Regions from separate parts of the Homo sapiens genome. Here all the other regions are linked to region 2. Evidence: promoter capture Hi-C in 16 types of primary human blood cells and fetal thymus (Javierre and others, 2016). All regions are on one chromosome and are shown on one strand. Each heading gives the region's core, a stretch centred on a gene start or on the middle of the fragment in contact. The rest is flanking DNA. Distances are from core to core; before and after follow the strand shown. Region 1 holds the start of LOC124904892 (a long non-coding RNA gene). Region 2 holds the start of CNBD2 (cyclic nucleotide binding domain containing 2). Region 3 overlaps EPB41L1 (erythrocyte membrane protein band 4.1 like 1). Region 4 has its middle 9.9 kb from the start of EPB41L1.

Region 1 (2,966 bases), core at 400-2,899, 230 kb after region 2:
CAAGCACCCTTACTATGGAGTGCACCATGGCAGGGCCTTGCCTTTGGGTCATCTCTCAATACCTGGCCCTTGCCGGGATGGGGTGGGCATGGGAGTGGGCATGCTGCCTGTCCTGTACTCTCCCCAGCTTTGCCCTGCTTTTCCAGAGGGGCACTCTGTCCCCTAGAGGACTCAGGCCTCCTTTTGCACACTCTTAATTTGCCCCTCTGACTGGGATCTGGATCTGCACCACTCTCTTCCTCCTCAGAGCATGACCAGGTGTCACCAACAGCTCTAGGAGTGTGAGGTTCAAGTGTGTCCCCTTCCTATTTCCCCATGCCCCACTCAGGTGCACACACACAGTCCCAGTATCTGTGTGTACACGCTCATGCAGGATTGCATGACCTCAGCCTCACACTCACTTAATAACAGATGTATGCACCCGTCACCCTTAGATCCATGCACACAGATGTGCAAACAACATGCACACACACAGGTGTGTGCACACACAGGCCAGGGAGAGCTTCCTCTTGGTATAGTTGTTCAGCAGGTTTCTTTCCGTCTACCTTGTGAGCACAGGGCCTTGAACATGCTCCCACTGACAGCGAGAGCAGGGAACTCCATTCTCACATCCCATCTGCCCAGTGTGGCTCTGCCCACTTGGCCTCTAGTTCCCTTCTCTGCCTTCCTGGGACAGCACCCTGCTTCACACCTGTACCTTCTTCTGACTACCTCACTGCCCTGCTGGTGGCCCACCCAGCTGCCCTGGCCTCCACTTGGTCGAGTGTGCGTGCTCTGGGCTCCTTGCTGGACCAAGCCCATCGTGGTATCTCTAATCCATCTGCTCTACTGACCCTGCTGCTTTCTTTCCCTCCTACCACATCCCACTAGCCGGAGCAGGAAACCACGCCGAGACACAAGCAGGAGGTACTGCATGGGACCTGTCCCTCCCTACCCAGCCGTTCCCATCCCTAGCTCATTTGTCACCATCCCACAGTCCATCCCAGGCTCACTTCCCTGGCACCATCTCAGCTTCAACTTCATCTCTGCTCCCCAGCCATCCCCCTCTGCAGCCGTCCTTGCTCCCCACTCCGCCACCCGCTAAGCTTCTCTCTCCAGCTCCCTTCTTAGACTCTCCTGGCCAATCGGCCATCTCTCCCTCCTCCCTCAGCCCTCCCACCCTCTCCCCAGCTCACCCGGTCCTCCATACTTGCAGCTCACCTGCTGACCATCCCACCTGCACCACCAGCTCTTCCAGGCCATTCTGTGCTTTCATTTAGCACATCTCCCCTGACCCACCCCTTCCCTAGATTCATCTCCTGCCCGACAGCACTGTTTGGTCTCGCCTCCATCTCGTCTGTGTCCCCTGTGTCCTCACCCCTAGCTTCTTTTTGTATCTATTGGCAGTCAGATGTGGGAGTGGGGATTGGGGGTGGGGGAGGGAGGTGCCTCAGAGCACACCTGCATCTGCCCCAACTCCAGTCCTACACCTCCCCCAGGCAGGGTCGACTACTGCTCCGCTATGGCAAAAACCTCCTCCTTTTCTCCTCCTTTCCTCGTCTTCTTCCCATTTGTTGCTTCCCCCAAATTATTCCTTCCATGTTAACCACTTCTTCCCTCTCACACAGTCACCAACTCTTCATCTGAACTTTAACTGCAAGAGAAGTGGGTTTATTCTTGGGCTGCCAAGGTAAAGGGCCAGAGACTGGGACATAAGAAGAGCCTTGCCTTGGAGTCCTGAGATCTGGGTTTCAACCCCACTTCTGCCACCAACTCTTTGAAGGTCTTGGGAAATTCCCCTCAGGCCCCAGTCCCCTGTCTGAACAGCAAAGCATTCAGACTAGGTTTCTCCAATGCCCTTAACCTTTAGGGATCCCAGGACCCCAGGATCCCACTGCTCCCTACAGCCTTCAGGGACATAACACACCCACGGAGGCAGTGGGGCAGGTTTGTGATGGAAGACGACAAGCCACATCTCAGGTTGGGACTCACTACCCATTGCAGCCCAAACCCTCTCCCTGTGCAAGCACCATCAGGTTTGACTTCTCAGACAGCCATGGTCCAGAGGGCAGCTCAGCTTGGGAAGGGATGCCCGAGGAACAGACAGATGTCTGGAGGGAAAGCAGGAGCCTCACTGGGATTGGTTTCCTTCCTGAGGTAGCTTAGGAGTCAGCCATAGTGGATCCTTGGGTACCAGAGATGAGCCCAGGGGAAGATTCTAGCTTTGTCCAAGGGTAAGCTTACCTTCCAGTGGTTCTTCCAGAATTACCTGATCTGACTTTAATAAGCTGAGATTGTCCATTTCTTGTCCTGAATTGAGTTAACATGAATTTTTAAGCAGCCTTGCAGATAAGCGTCCTTGGGCTGCCAGCCACCACTTTGCCCCAGAAGTAGCCAGATAAACAGCTTTTGGCAGGTCCCTGCCAGCTCCTGCACAAAGCTCGTCCTCCCTTGACCTAAGGAGATGACTCTGTCATGCTGCACTGGCTGGGAACACTACCCATATAGGTAGAATCCTACAACTCTGGCTATACCTGGCTCAATTCTTGTGCCCAGCTGTGGGACTTACTGCTCTTCTTCCTGGTCTCTAATTCTCCTAATCTTCCTGAACACTCCACAGCATTCTAGTTTCTCTATCTGGCTGTATCTCACCCTGTCTGCTATTGGTGAGTCAGTACCTGAAAGGTATCTGGAAGGTCCAGGGTGGTTGGGGAAGGTAGTGTCCCATCACAGAGGAGACTAGATGCAATTTTTTCCTGCCCCTGGTCCCTAGTGTGGGAGCTTGGCCATTCTTCTGGATGTCCCTGGCTTGAGGAGGATCTGTACTGTGGGCCTCCCCAGGGCCTGAGCAGTTGTGCATGTTGGGCTAGGAGGGGCCCAGACTGGACATCCTGTTAAGTACAGTGGCCCAAGTCTCAGCCAGAAAGTGGACACTGGGATCCAGGAGGGATCTAGGAGGCACCTGAATGAGTCAGAGCAGCCCAGTG
Region 2 (2,848 bases), core at 320-2,819:
CTTGAGAGACAATAGTCAATTTACAACCAAAAGTATGCCTGCCAGGAAACTCTGCCCCACCTGGAGAGTATCTCGAGACAAGGCCACTTTACAACCTAGTTCTGCCCAAGATGGTGGCAGCTCGACCAGGCGGTAGATAAGGCACCAAAGTGAGTCATGGAGACTCCCACCTGCTCATTCCCTCCTCTGCATGCCATTTATGCCAATTCCCCCTCCCGCTTTTTTTTTTTTTTTTTTTTTTTTTTTTGAGACAGAGTCTTGCTCTGTCGTTCAGGCTGGAGTGCAGTGGCACAATCTTGGCTGACTGCAACCTCTGCCTCCCGGGTTCAAGTGATCCTCCCACCTCAGCCTCCCGAGTAGCTGGGATTATAGGTGCCCACCACCTCACCCGGCTAATTTTTTTGTATTTTTAGTAGGGATGGGGTTTCACCACATTGGCCAGGCTGGACCAGACCTTGCTTCTGTTAATTGGATGCTACAAATGGAGAGCAAGTGTACCTGACATTTAGCTACACTGCTTTCTTAAAAAAAAAAAAAAAAAAAAGGCCCTGGCCAGGAGTGGTGGTTTATGCCTGTAATCCCGGCACTTTGGGAGGCTGAGGTGGGTGGATCACTTGAGGTCAGGAGCTTGAGACCAGCCTGGGCAACGTGGTGAAAGCCTGTCTTTACTAAAAATACAAAAATCAGCCGGGCATGGTGGCACACGCCTGTAATCCTAGCTACTTGGGCGGCTGAGGCAGGAGAATCACTTGAATTTGGGAGGCAGAGGTTGCAGTGAGCTGAGATTGGGCCACTGCACTCCATCCTGGGAACAAAGTGAGACAGTGTCTCAAAAAACAAAAAAGCCCTATCTTTGCAGGACAGGTGAGCCCCCAAATTGAGACTTAGCTTAGGAGAGTTCTTGGCTTTGCCCAAGGAAGGAATTCAAGGGTGAGCCAGTGGTGTTAGACAGCAATCTTTTATTGAATAGTGCTTCTCCTTGTGGGGCAGGGCTAACTCATGGGCAATGAATCCGGAGTCGATACCCAGTGTATGAGATGTTGGCAACTGTATTTATGCTCATCTCTAATCCCTTCTCAGCCTTTTGGCTGAGATCAAGTGTAGTATACGCATTCCTACCCACTTTCAATCACATGCAAATTAAGGGGCAGGCTAATGCAAATTAAGGGGCAGGTTAATGCAAATTAAGGAGTGGGTTTTTAGAGTTTTCTAGGAAAGAGGTAGCAACTTCCTGGTCATTGCCAAGACATTTGTACACTGTCATGGCACTGGTAGGAGTGTCTTATGTTAATGAGGGATGGGGACAGCTAGGGGGTCCTAGATCCTGTTTTGGTCAGCAGGGTTGTGCCATTCTCCTGTCTCACCAGGACTCTGGCAGCCATTTAGCTACTTTGAGCCCCAGTCTCCTATGTATGGAGTTGAGTAAAAGTTTGGGTGGTTGTGAGGATTAGCTGAGATAATGCCTGTGAGTATCCCATAAATGTTAGACTCCCACATTCCAATCCCTGTGTCCCCTGCCTCCAGAATCTTTCATTGTGACCTTAGGAGATTCTGAGAATGATTTTTCTCAGAGCAGGGCTTCCAGTAGCTGATGGTATGGTAGGAGGAGTGGAGTGGAGCTCTTGCCTTGTTACTGAGGAAATCTATTTGTTTCTAGTATTACTGGATTTTTGGGGAAAAATTTGTAGTCCTCCCCTTGAAAGGCAAAGGGGCTAGTTGTGCCATTTGCCTGCACAGGAACCATGAGGAGACATATGGTAACTTATGCCTGGCAGCTCCTGAAGAAGGAACTGGTGAGGAGGGGCAAGGGCCCTGGGAGGGAAGAGCAGAAGACTGAACAGACAGGTGTTTTGAGGAAGGTCGATGCAGGTGTAGGAGGGGTCTTGGATGAATGGTGGCCATCCTGTACCTTTTGGAGTCACAGCATGGCACAAAGGAGGGACCCCTGCCCTGTAGCCTACCAGCCCCCCACACTGGGCAAGCCATAAGCCACACTCAGAGCCACTGAGTCCTGTTCTGTACCCACTCTTCCTGCTATTATGAGATCCAGAGAGAACGAGGGAGGATAGAGTCAGGGTAGCAACATTGAGTCATAGGTTAAGCTTGTGAACTCTGGAGCCAGACTACCTAGGTTTAAATCCCTATCACCTATTAGTCATGTGACCCCAGGCAAGTTGCTTGGTTTGCTGTGCCTTTATTTTCTCCTCTGTAAAGTGAGATGATAATACTAGTACCTACTGCATAAATTTACTGATTAAATGATTTACATATCAGAATAGTGCTTTGGATAATGCCTGACAATAGTAAATTGTACTCAGTAAGTATTAATTTTATTCATAAAGTACCTTTCCCCATATTTCCATAGATATCTAATTTTTAAGAAATAGAACATTACAGGTGTAGGGAAAGCTCTTTACCATCCCATGCCCCTTTATTTCTCTTTAATAGTAACCACTTTCCTGAAGTTGGTGTCACCCTTCCTGTTTATATTTTTATATATTATCACATGTGTATGTATCCATAAACAATATATAGTATGTGGCACACTGTTTAAAAATGATACCATAAATAGCATCATAGTTCTTTTTTCCCACTCAAAATCATTTCAGCTTTATCCACATTGACACACACAGACTTAGTGCTGTGTTCAATCCTGTGACTGAACCATAATGTATTGATCCCTTCGATCCCTACTAATGAACATTTGTTTTCAGCCATTCACTGTTACACACAATGTTGCCATGATTACCCTCATGGCTATCCCCTTGTACATGTATGTTTCTCTGAAGAGGACATATAAAGTACATACAATTCTTCCATTGTGAAGTACACACATCCTCAACTTTAT
Region 3 (2,700 bases), core at 81-2,580, 190 kb after region 2:
ACATTGCATTATTGTTTTACAACTTGCATTTTTCATGTAACTACACATTGACATCTTTTTATGTCAGTAGATATAAAATCTATCTCAAAAATTTTTGCAATAGGTATGTTATACTTTCATAATTAAATTTTTAATGGATAAACCCTACTAATTTGGCCAGCCCCCCTGTTGATTGACATTTGAAGTTGTTTCCAATTTTACGGTATTCTAAGTAACGCTAACTGAACTCTAACAGTATTTAGACAATTAGTGAAAATCAAGTGAGAGAAGGAGTCAGAAACCATGAGACCGTGAGAGTTGCCCTCAAAGGTCTGCTGCTTCTCCCTTCTCCTGTTCCCTCCTCTCCTCACTGGAGCCTGGGGGAACTGGTCTTGGAGGAGGCCATCTCTCTGTCACCCTCAAAAGGTGGTGATGTCCCAGGGAAAGACCCTTTCTTTCACCCACCCAGTATGGAGCTCTCCTAGGAAATTTTCAAATTCTCTTAGGATGCTCTAAGCTGCTGCTTGGGCTGTGCAGCTGCCCACACCCAGACTGTCCTTGGACAAGCTTTCTACCTTCTCTGTACCTCAGTTTGTCCATCTGTCTGGTGGTGATCAGAGCCATTGCTGCCACTGAGTGTCTTCTATATGTCAAATACTGTGCTAGAGCAAGCTTCATGTGCATTATCTGTTTTTCTATTTTTTCTTTTTATTTTATTCTTCTTATTTTTTTGTTTGTTTGTTTTTTGGGTTTTTTTGTTTTGTTTTTGAGATGGAGTCTTGCTGTGTTGCCCAGGCTGGAGTGCAGTGGCAGGATCTCAGCTCACTGCAACCTCCGCCTCCCCGGTTCAAGCAATTCTCCTGCCTTGGCCTCCCAAGTAGCTGGGATTACAGGCACGTGCCACCTGCCTGGCTAGTTCTTGTATTTTTAGTAGAGACAGGTTATCACTGTGTTGGCCAGGCTGGTCTCGAACTCCTGACCTCAGGTGATCTGCCTGCCTCAGCCTCCCAAAGTGCTGGGATTACAGGCCCAGTCGTTATTCTTGTTTTTTTAAAGACAGCCTGTCACTCTGTCACCCAGGCTGGAGTGCAGTGGCATAGTCACAGCTCACTGTGACCTCAAACTCCCAGGCTCTAGTGATCCTCCTGCCTCAGCCTCCTGAGTAGCTGGGACTACAGGTGCACCCCACCATGCCCGGCTAATTTGGGGGGGGCACAGGGTAAAGACAGTGTCTCGCTCTGTTGCCCAGACTGCTCTCAAACTCCTGGGCTCAAGCAATCCTCCCTCCTTGGCCTTCCAAAGTGCTGAGATTACAGGCGTGAGCCACCACACCCTGCCTATCTCATTTAATTCTCACTATACACCTTGGAGGTGCAGGGGATAGTCTTCTCAATAGAGGTTAAGTAACCTGCCCAAGGTCACCAAGCCTGTGGCATCAGGATTCCAGCTCTGGCTCATAAGCCCATGTCTGTAACTGCTGTTTCCTGCCCACTCTCAACAGTGGCTAATTGGTGAGGTCCAAGCAAAATGATTATAAAAAGATCCTTTAAGTTGTAAAGTGCCCTGCATGTGGGAGGGATTGATACTGCCGTTATTATTTCTACATCCAGAGCAACAGTAGCTTTGGTTATATGGCTTACAGCAAGTTGGAGGTCGTGGGATGTAGCAGCATTGAGTGGGGAGAGCACTGGACTGTGAGCCAGCAGACTTGAGTCCTAGTCCTGGCTCTCCTTGAAACTGACTAGCCATGTGGCCTTGGCCACTAAGCCGCCTGGGAAATAAGCTCACCTACTCCGTGTGGCCCTTGTGCAGCTCAAATAAGATAAAGCCCAAAAGACAGCCAGCATGTTGCCCAGCTCTCGGAGGATACCCTGCTAACGGGAGGTCTCTCTCTGCCTTCTGCATCGTCATCAGGATGGGCCAGGTGGGACGCATGTCTCCGTTTTAATGCTGTTACTCTGCAGTTCTGTGCTGTCACGTGGTCCCCAGCCCACCACTGCACATCAGCCTGAGGCTCCCTAGTGGCCCGTGAAGCTTTTGGGCAAGAAGCCAAGGCTGATGGGTGGTGGCCTTTTCACATTGTTTGGTCTAAAGTGGTGTCCGTGGGTACTGCAAACCTCTGACGAATTGCCGTCTCCCCACTGCCATGTACAAATCCAAGCACCAGACAGGATGACTGCAGACTCAGCTCCCTTTTTGATCCTTCTTGCCTGGCTGTGAAAGTGGCTTGAGGTCTCAGAGGCAGCTCTCTCAGCCTGTACCCTCCATCCTTTCATTCACGTCCATGTAGACATTATCACTCAGGGAAGTGAGTGTTCCATACTGGGGAAGTCCCCTTGGGAAGGAAGTCACATCATCTCCAGCAAGTGAGAGAAAGAATAAGCCCTAATAGGCACTCTTTCTGTTTTTTTTTTTTTTTCTTGTAATTCTTCTTTTTTCTTTTCTGACTCCGAAAGTAATACATGCTCATAGTAGAAAATTGAAAAATACGGAGAAAAAGGCCCCTATTTCCTTCTCCAAGGGAAGGCTATTGTTAACATTTTAGTCTTTGGACTTAATTGGAGAGTAATATTTCTGGAGCAAATATTTCTAATATTCTGGTATGTGTTTAGTGTTTTACAGGCATGATCTGATTCCATTTTCACAGTAAGCCTGTGAGGTATGTAAGTTTATCATCATGACTTTACAGATGAAGAAACTGAGGCACAAAGAGGTTAAGGG
Region 4 (3,067 bases), core at 518-3,017, 180 kb after region 2:
GTGTGCTCACTCCCTGCTGAAAAAGGGCAGAGAGAGTGGAATGGAGAGGGTGACTTCAGAGGCAATATGACAAGGGTGAGGCAGGCTCTGGGGAAGCACAGCATTTAGCCAATCAACATCTATGTCCCACAAAAGCCCACATAAAAGCTCATCGTCTTAGTGAAGTCTTTAATGTAGGGTTCCTTTAAATTAGATACAAAATACAAAATACACACATATACAGCTAATTTCTTATCGTGGCTGATTAGAGATCATCTAGCCCAAGTCTTAACCAAGGGGATTATCTATCTATCACTCAGGGGGTGATCTATGCATGGGCTTCATGAGCTCTCTTGATACCTGAAAGATGATAAAGGTAGGTATGTGTGTGTGTGAGTGTGACTTTGTGTGTGTGTATGTGTGTGCAGGTGCATACCCATGTACATTTTTCTAGGAGAAGCTCTGCAGTTTTCATTGCATTTTCAAAGGAAATCAGGACCGATAAAAGGTTTTCTTTTTCTTTTTCTTTTTTTTTCTTTTTTCTTTTTTTTGAGACAGTGTCTCGCTCTGTTGCCCAGGCTGGAGTGCAGTGGCGCGATTTTGGCTCACTGCAACCTCTGCCTCCCGGGTTCAAGTGATTCTCCTGCCTCAGCCTCCCAAGTAGCTGGGACTACAGGCGCACGCCACCATCCCTGGCTAATTTTTGTATTTTTAGTAGAGATGGGGTTTCACCATGTTGGCCAGGCTAGTCTCAAACTCCTGACCTCAGGTGATCTGCCCGCCTCGGCCTCCCAGAGTGTAAGAATTACAGGCGTCAGCCACTGCGCCCAGCCCCCTAAAAGGTTTAGAACTGCGCTAGTCCAACCCCCTCATATTACAGGTAAGGAAATTGAATTCAGAGAGGAAAATGACTGCCCAAGATCTCACAGCAAAGGTCAAATCAAGGTTTCTTGATGCCCAGCCCAGCGCCCTCTGCCACACAGGACGCCACCCTCCCCTGCCTGGTTCCTTGAGCCAGGGTCTAGCTACCTACAGTAGGCAGGATCACAGTACCATTTTCCATACCCTCTTGGCTGGCATGGATCCAACTGAACAGGCTTGAGGCTTTCAATCACAGTGGGCAGCTGAGCCCTCACCTCCAGACCTTCCCACTCCCAGGGGAAAACCCATGGGGCATCTCCTGACTCATTCCTTTAGAGGGCATCTTTGCCCAGGACAGTTAAATCTGTCTGTTGACATTCTTATCCTGGTGGGACACTCTCTGATACAGGAAGTGCCTCTGCCTTGTGGGAAAGGAACTGACCCTCGGGTCCTGGAGGACAGGAAATAGAATGGCTGAGTGGGCCTGGGAATATTATATGATGGAAAGGCAGGAGGTCATAGCTAGTGGCAAGAGACAGATGCTGTCTCATTGTATATGGGAGGAATTAAACTGCCATAGGAGTGAATAATAGGACTGATAAGTAACATTTATTGAATACTTACTATAAGTTAGACACTCTTCTAAGATATTTACATGTATTAGCTCCATTAATCCTTATAATAACTCCATATGGTTATTATAAGGAAACTGAGGCACAAATAGATTAAGCACATCTAGGAAACAACTGAGCCAGGATATGAAGTCAGGTCCTCTGACTCCAGAGTATACATCACTCTGGAGCCAAAGTGTAGGCTCCTAGCCTCTATGCTGGCAGACCTGAAACTCCAGTGTGCGTTAGAATCACAGGAGGGCTGATGAAAGCACTGTTGCTGTTCCAAACCTCCTAGTTTCTGACTCAGTAGGTCTGTGTGGGGCCTGAGGATTTGTGTACTTAAGAGTTCCCAGATAAGGCTGGGTGCGGTGGATCACGAGGTCAGGAGTTCAAGACCAGCCTGGACAAGATGATGAAACCCCCGTCTCTACTAAAAATACAAAAAAATTAGCCGGTTGTGGTGGTGGGTGCCTGTAATCCCAGCTACTTGGGAGGCTGAGGCGGAGAATTGCTTGAACCTGGGAGGTGAAGGTTGCAGTGAGCTGAGATTGCGATCACACCACTGCACTCCAGCCTGGGCGACAGAGGGAGACTCCATCTCAAAAAAAAAAAAAAAAAAAGAGTTCCCAGATATTGCTGGTGTTCCAGGGACCACACTTTAGAATCATCCCTGTTTCCTGATAGGAAGAGATGAACAGAGGGAAAAGAAGTGGTGACTGATCTCACCTGGATTATTGCAATGTCCCACTGTGGTTCCAGGCTTCTCCTTCACTCCGGTCACTGAGTCTTCACCAGGAGCAAATTAATTTTCCTAAAGCCCAGCTCTAATTATGCCTCTGCTCAAAGCTCTCTGGATCCTCTGACACTATCCACCATTGCTGTCCACTAGAAATGTCTGTAGTGATGAAATGTTCTACATCTGCACCGTCCAGTATGGTAACCACTAACCACATGTGGCTATGAGTTTTACATTTTGTTCCATTAAATTTAAATTTAAATAATCACATTTGGCCAGTTGCTAGACAGTGCAGTGCACTTGGTTTGTCATTCAAGGCTCTGCTTGGCACCAGCTCCTTTCTATCTCCTCAGGGATAGCCTCAACCCTCAGTATCCCAGGCTCCAGGTCATATGCAGCGTTTCCTGATTCTACCTTGTAATTCCCAGCACTATGGCTTGTGTTATGCTCTCTCCTCAGTCTACATTGTCCTTCTGCCCTGCCTTTAATGCCCAACCCACATATGACCTCTTCCTCGAAACCTCCTTTGACACCTGCTGCTCTCTAATCTTTTTCTCCTCTGAACTCCCCAACACTCTGTCCTCTTCTTACAACCTTTAGTGCTTTCTGTTTTACATTGCAGTTGGCTGGTGTGGGTACTTTCTCTTACTAAACTGTGAGCTTTTGGAGGATGTGACTGTTTTCTGTAGAGAGCTCTTGCTTCCTACTGTAGGTCCCTCCAGGTACACAGAGGAGTTCGACAAATCCCACAAACCTTTGTACTGGCACACTGGGGATACAGAGATCGGTACCATAACTTCCCTGTCCTCAAGCTGCTCACAGGCTTCTACGAGAGTCTGATTCATGCCCAGAGAACCACTGAAGCCAATGGTTATTT

The links. Contacts are between HindIII fragments. The CHiCAGO score rates a contact against its expected background, and 5 or more counts as called.
Region 1: a contact is called between a fragment that was not itself captured here and the fragment with the promoter of CNBD2 in region 2, in 1 of 17 cell types (endothelial precursors). The highest score is 5.9, in endothelial precursors.
Region 3: a contact is called between a fragment that was not itself captured here and the fragment with the promoter of CNBD2 in region 2, in 1 of 17 cell types (endothelial precursors). The highest score is 5.4, in endothelial precursors.
Region 4: a contact is called between a fragment that was not itself captured here and the fragment with the promoter of CNBD2 in region 2, in 3 of 17 cell types (M1 macrophages, megakaryocytes and endothelial precursors). The highest score is 5.8, in M1 macrophages.

Annotation. Positions count from the first base shown.
Region 1 is chr20:36,194,459-36,197,424 of GRCh38, forward strand. It overlaps EPB41L1 (erythrocyte membrane protein band 4.1 like 1), which reads left to right. Exons shown (of 22, transcript NM_012156.2): 13 at 871-906. LOC124904892 (a long non-coding RNA gene) reads right to left here and starts at 2,487. Exons shown (of 3, transcript XR_007067571.1): 1 at 2,224-2,487. The HindIII fragment of the contact is 1,133 bases long and covers 1,084-2,216 here.
Region 2 is chr20:35,967,021-35,969,868 of GRCh38, forward strand. It overlaps CNBD2 (cyclic nucleotide binding domain containing 2), which reads left to right and starts at 1,570. Exons shown (of 12, transcript NM_001365709.1): 1 at 1,570-1,793. The coding sequence starts at 1,743. It also overlaps the pseudogene LOC124904982. The HindIII fragment of the contact is 7,355 bases long and covers 1-2,100 here.
Region 3 is chr20:36,160,747-36,163,446 of GRCh38, forward strand. The region is part of intron 1 of EPB41L1 (erythrocyte membrane protein band 4.1 like 1); the gene reads left to right. Among named protein-coding and RNA genes, the nearest start is that of EPB41L1-AS1, 6.3 kb to the left of the region's middle. The HindIII fragment of the contact is 1,362 bases long and covers 650-2,011 here.
Region 4 is chr20:36,143,341-36,146,407 of GRCh38, forward strand. It overlaps a transcript of EPB41L1 not described here. Among named protein-coding and RNA genes, the nearest start is that of EPB41L1, 9.9 kb to the right of the region's middle. The HindIII fragment of the contact is 6,985 bases long and covers 1-3,067 here.